3 separate regions of the Homo sapiens genome follow, and all the other regions are linked to region 3. The links are contacts of gene promoters, found by promoter capture Hi-C in human tissues and cell types (Jung and others, 2019). All regions are on one chromosome and are shown on one strand. The core of a region is centred on a gene start or on the middle of the fragment in contact, and the rest is flanking DNA. Distances in the headings are between cores, read along the strand shown.

The links. Contacts are between HindIII fragments. The study calls those that stand out against the background at their distance.
Region 1: a contact is called between a fragment that was not itself captured here and the fragment with the promoter of KCNRG in region 3, in 3 of the 25 tissues and cell types used here (heart left ventricle, mesendoderm cells and spleen).
Region 2: a contact is called between a fragment that was not itself captured here and the fragment with the promoter of KCNRG in region 3, in 2 of the 25 tissues and cell types used here (adrenal gland and liver).

What each region holds. Positions count from the first base shown.
Region 1 is chr13:50,191,836-50,194,846 of GRCh38, reverse strand. All of the region lies in intron 2 of DLEU1 (deleted in lymphocytic leukemia 1), which reads right to left. Among named protein-coding and RNA genes, the nearest start is that of DLEU2, 68 kb to the right of the region's middle. The HindIII fragment of the contact is 7,991 bases long and covers 1-3,011 here.
Region 2 is chr13:50,156,337-50,159,222 of GRCh38, reverse strand. The region is part of intron 2 of DLEU1 (deleted in lymphocytic leukemia 1); the gene reads right to left. Among named protein-coding and RNA genes, the nearest start is that of DLEU2, 32 kb to the right of the region's middle. The HindIII fragment of the contact is 5,908 bases long and covers 1-2,886 here.
Region 3 is chr13:50,013,937-50,017,089 of GRCh38, reverse strand. KCNRG (potassium channel regulator) reads right to left here and starts at 1,646. Exons shown (of 2, transcript NM_173605.2): 1 at 1,019-1,646. The coding sequence starts at 1,596. It overlaps TRIM13 (tripartite motif containing 13), which reads right to left. Exons shown (of 2, transcript NM_213590.3): 2 at 1-3,153. All of the region lies in intron 10 of DLEU2 (deleted in lymphocytic leukemia 2), which reads left to right. The HindIII fragment of the contact is 16,932 bases long and covers 1-3,153 here.

The sequences.
Region 1 (3,011 bases), core at 334-2,833, 180 kb before region 3:
GAGGGACTAGGTGACAGGGCTGGTACATAGCAAAAGAAGGAGATGCCAGAGGCACTGAGAGAGCTGTTGAAAATGGAGATAGCAAAGCAGTGACAACATTATTTTCCTACCTCATACATTTGCCCATACAACATCCTATTTTAACTTCTAAAAGTCCATTTCATTCTTGCTTAGCCCCAATTTTACTTCTACCACCCAAAAGGATTCAAGGATGTTATTTAAAAGATCCCTTTTTAAGTGCTGATATACAAAGGGTAATGCAACTGAGATAAAAGCGTGGTGCCTTTTCAGTTGCTGTATATCTGCCAGTCATTCTTCACCACAGTCCCTACTCTCAGGTCTGTGGAACCCTGGAGTAGTGAGGAGTGGAAGGGTGGACAAGGTGACTCATAGTTACAAGCGTGATGGTGATAGTTTTTTATATACATTAAAATGTATTTTTAATTCATTCTCCCCTATGAATCAGGTTCTCTGCAGCCTTTTCACCAATATGGCCTCAGAGAAAGGGAAAAAGCAACTCCTCAGGAAGGAGAATGAAATAACTTAAAACTATTTTCTACCAAACAGAAGGGAAAAGAAAAGCTCATGGTGATGGGTAAGAAGACGTTAAAAAGATGGAGACATAAGCAGGAAAACATGGTTTCTTTGCCTTGGACCTAAATCTCAAATTGAGAGGTTTTAGGTGAAGGTTAAGGGAAAAGTCAAAAGTAGAGGATTTTTCTATTTAAAAATGGGCAAAATATCTTAATAGACATTTCTCAAAAGAAGACTTACAAATGGCCAACAGCTACATGAAAAAAAATGCTCAAAATCACTAATCATCAGAGAAATGAAAATCAAAACCACAATGAGATATCACTTCACACCCATTAGAATGGCTTTTATCAAAAAGACAAGAGACAAGAAATGTTGGCAAGGATGTGGAGAAAAAGAAACCCTTGTACACTGTTGGTGGAAATGTAAATTAGCATAGCCATTATGAAAACAGTATGCAGGCTCCTCAAAAAATTAAAAATAGAACTACCATATGATCCAGCAATCCCACTCCTGGGTATACATCCAAAGGAAATGAAATCAGTATGTCAAAGAGATATCTGTACTCTCATGCTAACTGCGGCATTATATAGTATTTCCATTTACAGATACAATAGACACAAATAGGCTGGGTGTGGTGGCTCAGGTCTGTCATCTCAGCACTTTGGGAGACTGAGTCTGGAAGATCACTTGAGGCCAGGAGTTCAAGACCAGTCTGGGCAACACAGTAAGACCCCAGTCTCTAAAAAAAAAATTGTTTTAATTAGCCAGGCGTGGTGGCTAGTGTCTATAGTTCCACCTACATGGGAGGCTGAGCTGGGAAGATCACTTGAGCTCAGAGCTTTGAGGCTGCAGTGAGCTATGATTGTGCCACTGCACTCCGGCCTGGGCTTCCAACCTGGGTAACAGAGCAAGACCCTGTCTCTAAAACAAACAAAAAGACATAAATAACTTCAATTGCAAGAATAATAGTAAAATGTACTTAAATAATTAAAAAGTGGTGAGTTTTGAGTACTACCTTTCTTTTTAATATTGTAAGTTTATATAACTTATCTAATAATGGTTGCATATAACAAGTGACTTGCAGAATTCCCCTAAACTTAACAATCAGCTCTGAAAAGCAAGCGTGAGCCAGTAGATCATGCTACTGCTTAAGAGCTCACACCCATTTACCACAGATATCATCTCGAAGAGGCAAGTGGAAGGAAAATTGAACAACTGAGTCATTTCCCCAAAATAAATTAACTTATCATTAATGATAAAGGTAAGTGGCTACTGCCACCTCTGCTGCCACCACTTTCAACCTCAAAGGTTCAGGAAGAGATGAAATCAGTTACCAAAACGTTACAGAAACTATTTTTTTTTATATCTGAATTTTAGTGTGTGTCAGTTAGAAATTCTGTGCCAAGTATGGAATCCTTCAATGGAGGTAGCTTATGTGGGTAGAGGTTTATTGCATTCACATGTCAAACAATAAGGCTTATTACTTCATGGTCAGAAAATAGCTGCCTCAGCTCCAGGCAATACATTTGTTTTCAAGCCAAGATGAAGGGGCAAGCAGCACAGCAGTTTCTCTGCTCTTTTATTAAGAGCACAAAAGCTTTCCCAGGAGTCTTCCTTCCCCATTCCCTTCTTCCCAGTGGACTTCTGCTGCTTAAATCTTACTGGTCAGAACAAGGTTACTCAGCCACCCCTAGCTGCAGGGAAGCTATCCTTATCCTTAATAGAAGATATTCTGATTGGCTGAAACCAGTCAAGATCCATTGCCCGGGCTGAGTACATTGCTGCCAATATATGAACAAACTCTGGGTTCTGTTAGGGAGGAAGACTTGGGTAATGGAGAATGGGCAAGCTGGCAGCAGAGTCTGGTGCAGTTTAAGTCAATATTTCTAACCCCAATTTACACAGCAGATAAAAAGTAGAAGGACTATTTTAAGTGGAAAAGAGCCAAGATTGGCATTTGCTTGCCAGAGCATAAGATGGAAATGCAGGAAGAGCCTGGGAAGTGTCTCTCATATCTAAGGCAGAATGCTACCAGGGGTACAAACGAGTAGGGCCTGGACATCTTAGCTGCTGCTGGACCTCCAGGTCCCACCGGCCATCATGCTGACTGAACAGCCACTGTAAGAACAGGAAATGGGGTACAGACAATGAAGTCCAATGTTAAAGAGGTTTCCCTGTCCAGGAAAACAAAGGAACAATAGACTCCTACGCTTAATATTTTAAGAGTTTTGTGGTGCTTTCTGAGGACCTGAGGCCCACTTGCTCTTCCCTTAGGACATAGCTCATGTTTCATAAAGCTGGGGCGAGCAGTAGGACTGAGAAGAAAAGTGAGAAGATTCCTCCTTCCCTGCCTCTAATGAACAAACCTTGGGACTAGCAAAGGTTAATTACTTGCCTGATCCAGGCTTATTCCTTGAAAAGGAGCTGAATGACTAAACATTTGTGAACATTGAGTCGCACAGCCCATCAGCAAA
Region 2 (2,886 bases), core at 372-2,871, 140 kb before region 3:
TCTAAACTGCCAAAGTTTCATGCTGTATGTCTTCCCCTGGCCTACCTCCCATGAATGTTCTCAGGATCTTTCTTCCTCCAACCTGGTTCTCTGTTAAGACCCTTCTTTCTTAGTTCCAAAGATAACTGCTCATTTAGGCTGACAAACTCACCAAATGTGCAAATGCTCCACAGGAACATATTTGCATTTTTGAAAGTCCCTTCTGGAAACAATGGCCGGAATGACACCAATGGGGGAAATTTCAGACCTTAATGTGAATTGGCTAGAGGAGAAATTTGGGGACCTGAAAGAGAAACTGCTCTCAGTCATATCTCCTTAATTTTCTGTCAACCCTTTTTCAACCAGTGACTGACCTGGGTCTTTTCTAGATCCATTTCAGCAAGCCTACTTAACCACCGTATAAGAACATAACCCATAAAACACCCTCAAATTCCCAACAGAAGCTAAGGTAGCTGAAAAAAGAAGTACCTGATTTCCATGGGCACATGTTAAGTGGAAAAGTTTGCTCCCTTCACCCAAAAAAAATCTTGCCTCTGCAAGCACTAGCCTGGTACCTTCCAGAAGGTGAATAAATTAACTTGCCAATACCACTTAAGGCAAATGGCTTAATGTTTTCACCAGATCTGACCAGGCCCCAACAACAAGGAGTGGGTGGAGATGAGCGTGTATTTTCATTTATTTCACGAGCCCTATTCTCTGTGGACTTGTAGTTTCTAAACCTAGGTACAAAAAAAAGCTTTAACTGCATGAGTAACTTTTGTTTTGTGGTACATTATTGTTCACTTTCAATAATGTAACTCAAAAATGACTTATAGGATTACAAGAATATGGTATAAAATTTCTAATACAATTCAATGACCCTTAAGCAAAAACATGATCACCATCAACTGAAGTTATCCTATACAATGGCAGGAAACTGTCAAGCCCAATTATGTGAAAATGCAAGAGAAATGTTTAGACAAGCTCCTCACCAAGACTTTCCATTGCTCATACAATAGAGGAGGATTAAGATCAAAACTATAATATTATATCAGTTTTATGATTATAAAATATGCTATTCAAGTTAGTTCAACGTAGCATTGTCTGTCCTAGTACATATATTAGGATAACATTATAATGTATTTCTAAGAGGCAAATCACAGAAGCCACTTACCAATCAAAATGTGTAACTCCAGGTGAAGCTAGACAAAATTATTGATACAAATTTTCTCCAGAAGAGTGATTTAGGAATGCAAAATACTCTAGACACACCACCCATCCACAGTTGGTGTGTCTTGCTTTATTAGATGCAATCCATTTCCTCAGACACTTGTTCAATTGAGGTCTTGTAAAACTATTAGATTAGCATTGGGCATATAGTAAGTGCACAAAGAAATTTGTTGTTGTTGTTGTTGTTGTTGTTGTTGTTGTTGTTGTTTTGAGACGGAGTCTCGCTCTGTCACCTAGGCTGGAGTGCAGTGACGCGATCTTGGTTCACTACAAGCTCTGCCTCCCGGGTTCACGCCATTCTCCTGCCTCAGCCTCCCGAGTAGCTGGGACTACAAGGGCCTACCCCCGTGCCCAGCTAATTTTTTTTTGTATTTTTAGTAGAGACAGGGTTTCATGAAAGAATGAATGAGTGAATTGTTGGATAGACTAAGTATCTTCAATAAATGCAGAAAATGCCAGTGTAGAACCATATTACACTTTCTTCAAAAATGCTATTCTACTCTGCTTGTTAATTATCTCCTTAAGATAATTTCACTTTTTTAAATGTTTTAAGGCATTTGTTTTACTAGCAATGAATTAAATGTTAGTTAAGAATCTGCACGTCTAATCCATTTAGATATAGCATGTATTTTCTTCCTAGTTCATACATCTCATAAAATGCAAAAAAAAAGTATAATCCTGCTAGCATAAGTCATTAGCAGACAAAGATAAAAACTCATGAGCTCTGTGTTTTATTTTATCTCACATTCTGCTTCATAGTCCAACCAAGTTTCATAATGAAAATTTTTCTCAGCCGACGCCTCAAATGCTTTATTCTTCAAATACAATTGATTTGACCAATATCGCTGTGGTTTGGAAATGTTTTTCTTCCTGTTGGTCTCTGCCATGATCTCCTCTGGATATAGTTCAATTAGATGCCTTCTCACTTTTTCACAAGTTGCCTGTTATTGTAAAAGTTTGGGAAAACTTTGAAAAAGAACTATAAAACGTTTTCACTGTCAATAGAAAAAAATGGATTGCTTGAGCCAGACACAGCTCCCCATAGAGCTAACCTTTTGATCCTGGAATCCTTTCATGCGCTTAAGTCTTCACTAGCGTCAATGGGAGTGTTGTGTATGCAAGGGCAGCAGGATCAAGTTCAGTCTCTTCTTTAGTACTCTGTAGCCAAGTGGGGTAGCCAGCTGAATCTGGTTTAGTTAAAAAAAAAAAAAAAAAAAAAAAAACACAACACTTTCCTGATGCTTTGAAGTTTTTTGGGCAGTGTAATAATATCAGGATTTGTAGGACGTTATTTTGCATAATCCTTAATAAGATATTCTTATGGCTTCAAAAAGTTAGTGGGTTAAGAGAAGCAAGAACCTCCAGCACTCATAGGAAATATTTTTTTAAGTTCTGGGTAGAAATGGCTCAAAATGCATCTCGGGAAGATACATAATTATAAGACTGTCCAAATGTGTGTTCAGGCAGGAATGCACCTAAAACTATTCTTCATAGATGGATTTCTACTCTATCTTTAAAAGATAGAGATATAATATAATAATCTCTCAAAAGCTCTGATGAAAACAAAGAAGCTTGCTGGAGGATTCTACTATGTGTGTGGATTAAGTAACTCTGTGACTAATCCAACTATTTGAATCAAAACAAGGCATTCCTTTAGAATCTTTATCACTCTAACCT
Region 3 (3,153 bases), core at 397-2,896:
TCCCAAAATGACATTTCAAACTCTTTTGAAGGACAGGAAGTTATAAAATGTAAACAATTAAGAATTGTCATACTCGGTTATTCTACCTAGTGTCCTCCAGTTGGTAAGCAAGACCAAGGAGTGTGTCGCTAAGAGAGAGAGACACTGGTATCCTTCCTGTTGGCTACTGCTCAAGTTAAGAAAATATCTTAAAATACGCCTACCTTTACCAAAAAAAAAAAAAAAAGTATATTTTAAATGATACCAATAAAGAACACATGCAGGCTTTTCTTTTCCTCCTAAAAATTAAAGCCAGCTTTCACAGTTGGTAAAATAATGGTAGGACAGCATTAAGACATTTTACGGGGGGAAAAATGTTTGTGACAGCAGAGTGGAAATCAGCGTTAGGATCCAGCCAAGAACAACAGAGGGAGTAAGTGAAGAATTGACTCAGGAGCAACTATCCTTAACATACTGACAGCCTATCCCAATATTTTGAGTTGTTTAAGAGCCAAGGCTGTAACAGGATACCAAATTTGCCATGAGATATATCTGTCTTTAAGGGTGTTTAAAAATAAAGTCAGCTGAAGGAAAAACAGTAGTTGAATCATAAAACTGAAAGAACAACTTATATAGTGTGTAAGGAACTCAAGAGAAACCAGTGAGCGAGCCTTTATGTGAACCACTGAAACAATCTCTTAAAAATAAGGCAATTCTTTTCTAAGTCAAATTCATTAGCAATGGAACATAATCTACAAAATTATTTTCTCCCATGATTTGAATGTCCATAGTCTCAGTTTTTTCTGGGCAGTCTTCATTTATTCCTTTTGTCCCACCTAATAATAGCCCCTTTCACTCTAAAAAGTATCCCAGTTTGGAAAATAATTATTTGGTCATTCTACCCAACTCCACTGGTTACCCCAAAACATTATTTTGAATAATCATCTTTTCCAGAAGTTACAGGCCTGAGGAACTTCAAGTTTTTAGAGAAAACATCACAAACTGGTATACAAGAGAAATACTGCAAAGTACAAAATACCTGACTCCAGTTTGGTTATCAGTAGTGCTGTCAGAACCACACTGGAAAACCAGGTCATGGTAAGAAGGTCTTTGTGGAGGCAGTGGAAGTAAGGTCATCTGAGGAGGGAAAAAGTTACCATTCCAGGTCGGCGCTGAAGGTTGTTCTGTAAACACTGTAATCCTCCCTGTTAGCATCTCAATTGTTTTGCTGCAAGAGCCAAACACCCTGAAAAAAGCTTGAGTGTTCCGGCTTAGGAAATGTACCTCCACAAGAGCAGGTCTTGGCTGTAGCAGGTATGGGTTTAAGAGATCAACTAGAGAACGAAGTTCATAGAAAAGAGCCTCTCTCTGAAGCCTAAGATAGTCTGAAAATTCAGTGGGTAATAAAAGCTGGTGAGTTCTCAAAAAATCTAAGATGAAACTAAACAAATCACCATCTCTGTCTACAAAAATCTGGCCACCAACCATCTTGAATTCTTGGTCTCTGCCATCTAACATGCGTGCCAAACGAGAAGCAGGAAACTGCTTTATCGTAGAAAACCTTGTCGTGAATATCTTCCCTCCCACATTCAAAGTGACCAGTTCCTGACTACTCATTCTTCCCTCACTTCAAACTAGAGGCTACCATCAGCCACACTTAGGAAATCAACCTATAACCATAAATGTTGCTAGTTATACATGATTATGCAGTGGAGGGGAGGGAAGAATAACAAAAACCAGACTTAGATTCCCAGGAAACTACTGTAAGGTAAATAGTGTATCCATGGCTGTGTTTGCAAATTCGAGTTGCCTGGGAACTTGCAGTATACAAAATGAAAAAGCAACAGATGAGGAACTAAATAGCTTAAGGAAAACTGCCAATATATCTGAAGATAGACATCAAATAGATCCCTTTCCTGTCTTACATTTAAAAACTTATCCATGAAAACCTAGTAAAACTATATATATATATATATATATATATATATATATATATATATATATATATATATATATTTTTTTTTTTTTTTTTTTTATTACTGGGAGGGGAAAAGCATTCTCCCTCCCCATACCTGTCTACCACGCAGAGGCTAGACTTAAACGTTTTTCTTAATTTCTTATGATCTCCTTAGAAATTTAGTGGCTAAATCATGAATTACATGTTAGGAATGAGACAGCCTGGCAAGCTCAATTTGACTATTCTCATAGCTAGAAGGAAATCATTTCTTCTGTGCTTTAAATTTAGTTGCCACCTTTTATCCTGTCCCCATTTTCATTACCTCCTCTCAACCAAATTAGAGGAGGACTGAGGTAAAGAACTCTTATTTTCAGAAAGTCTATTCCACTTAATGGGCTTTCAAGGAATATCTTACTCTATGACACAAATAAGGCAGACTAGAGAGCAGTTATAAGGTTACTTCTTTGTTATATGAATTCTAAGCAAGGTGTTTATTCCATGAGAGGGTATCTTTATCTCTTGTGAGCAGACAGAACAGCATTAGTGTTCAGCTGATTACTTTGTAATAGCTGACAGACTGTTTTATCTGTTGTCAAATTAGTCTTAACTACACTAAACATTCTTTCTGTAAGCAAGTGGATTGGTTTGGTTGTACACTTGCCATCTTTCGAACAAAACAACACATAGCTGCCAGAAAAAAGGTAGTCTTCCCATTTCCTGCTCTTGCCATGTGTTCTATATATACATATATATGTATATATATGTATGTGTACATATGTGTGTGTGTGTGTGTATATATATATATATATTTTTTTTTTTTTTTTTTTTTTTTTTTTTTTTGGTAGAGACTGGGTCTTGCTATGTTTACGAAGCTGGTTTCGAACTGGAACTCCTAGCCTCAAATAATCCTCCCACATCACTGTCCTAGAATGCTGAGATTATAGACATGAGCCACCCTGCCCAGCCAGCTGATCCTTTTTTTTAACCTATCTATGCTTTTGCTTGCATAGCCACTTAACATTTCTAGTTGATCATCTTTGGTGAAAACTACAAAAACAAAGGAGAAAAGGGCAGATTGAAAGCTCCACTCTCCTAAAAATGTAAACTTATCACAAGAAAATGCCAGGTTTTGTATGTACCATTCACATTTTGGTGATAATTAACTCTCTGTAGAAAATTTTGGAAATCTAATTAATTAGTACCTTCAATACCTTTAG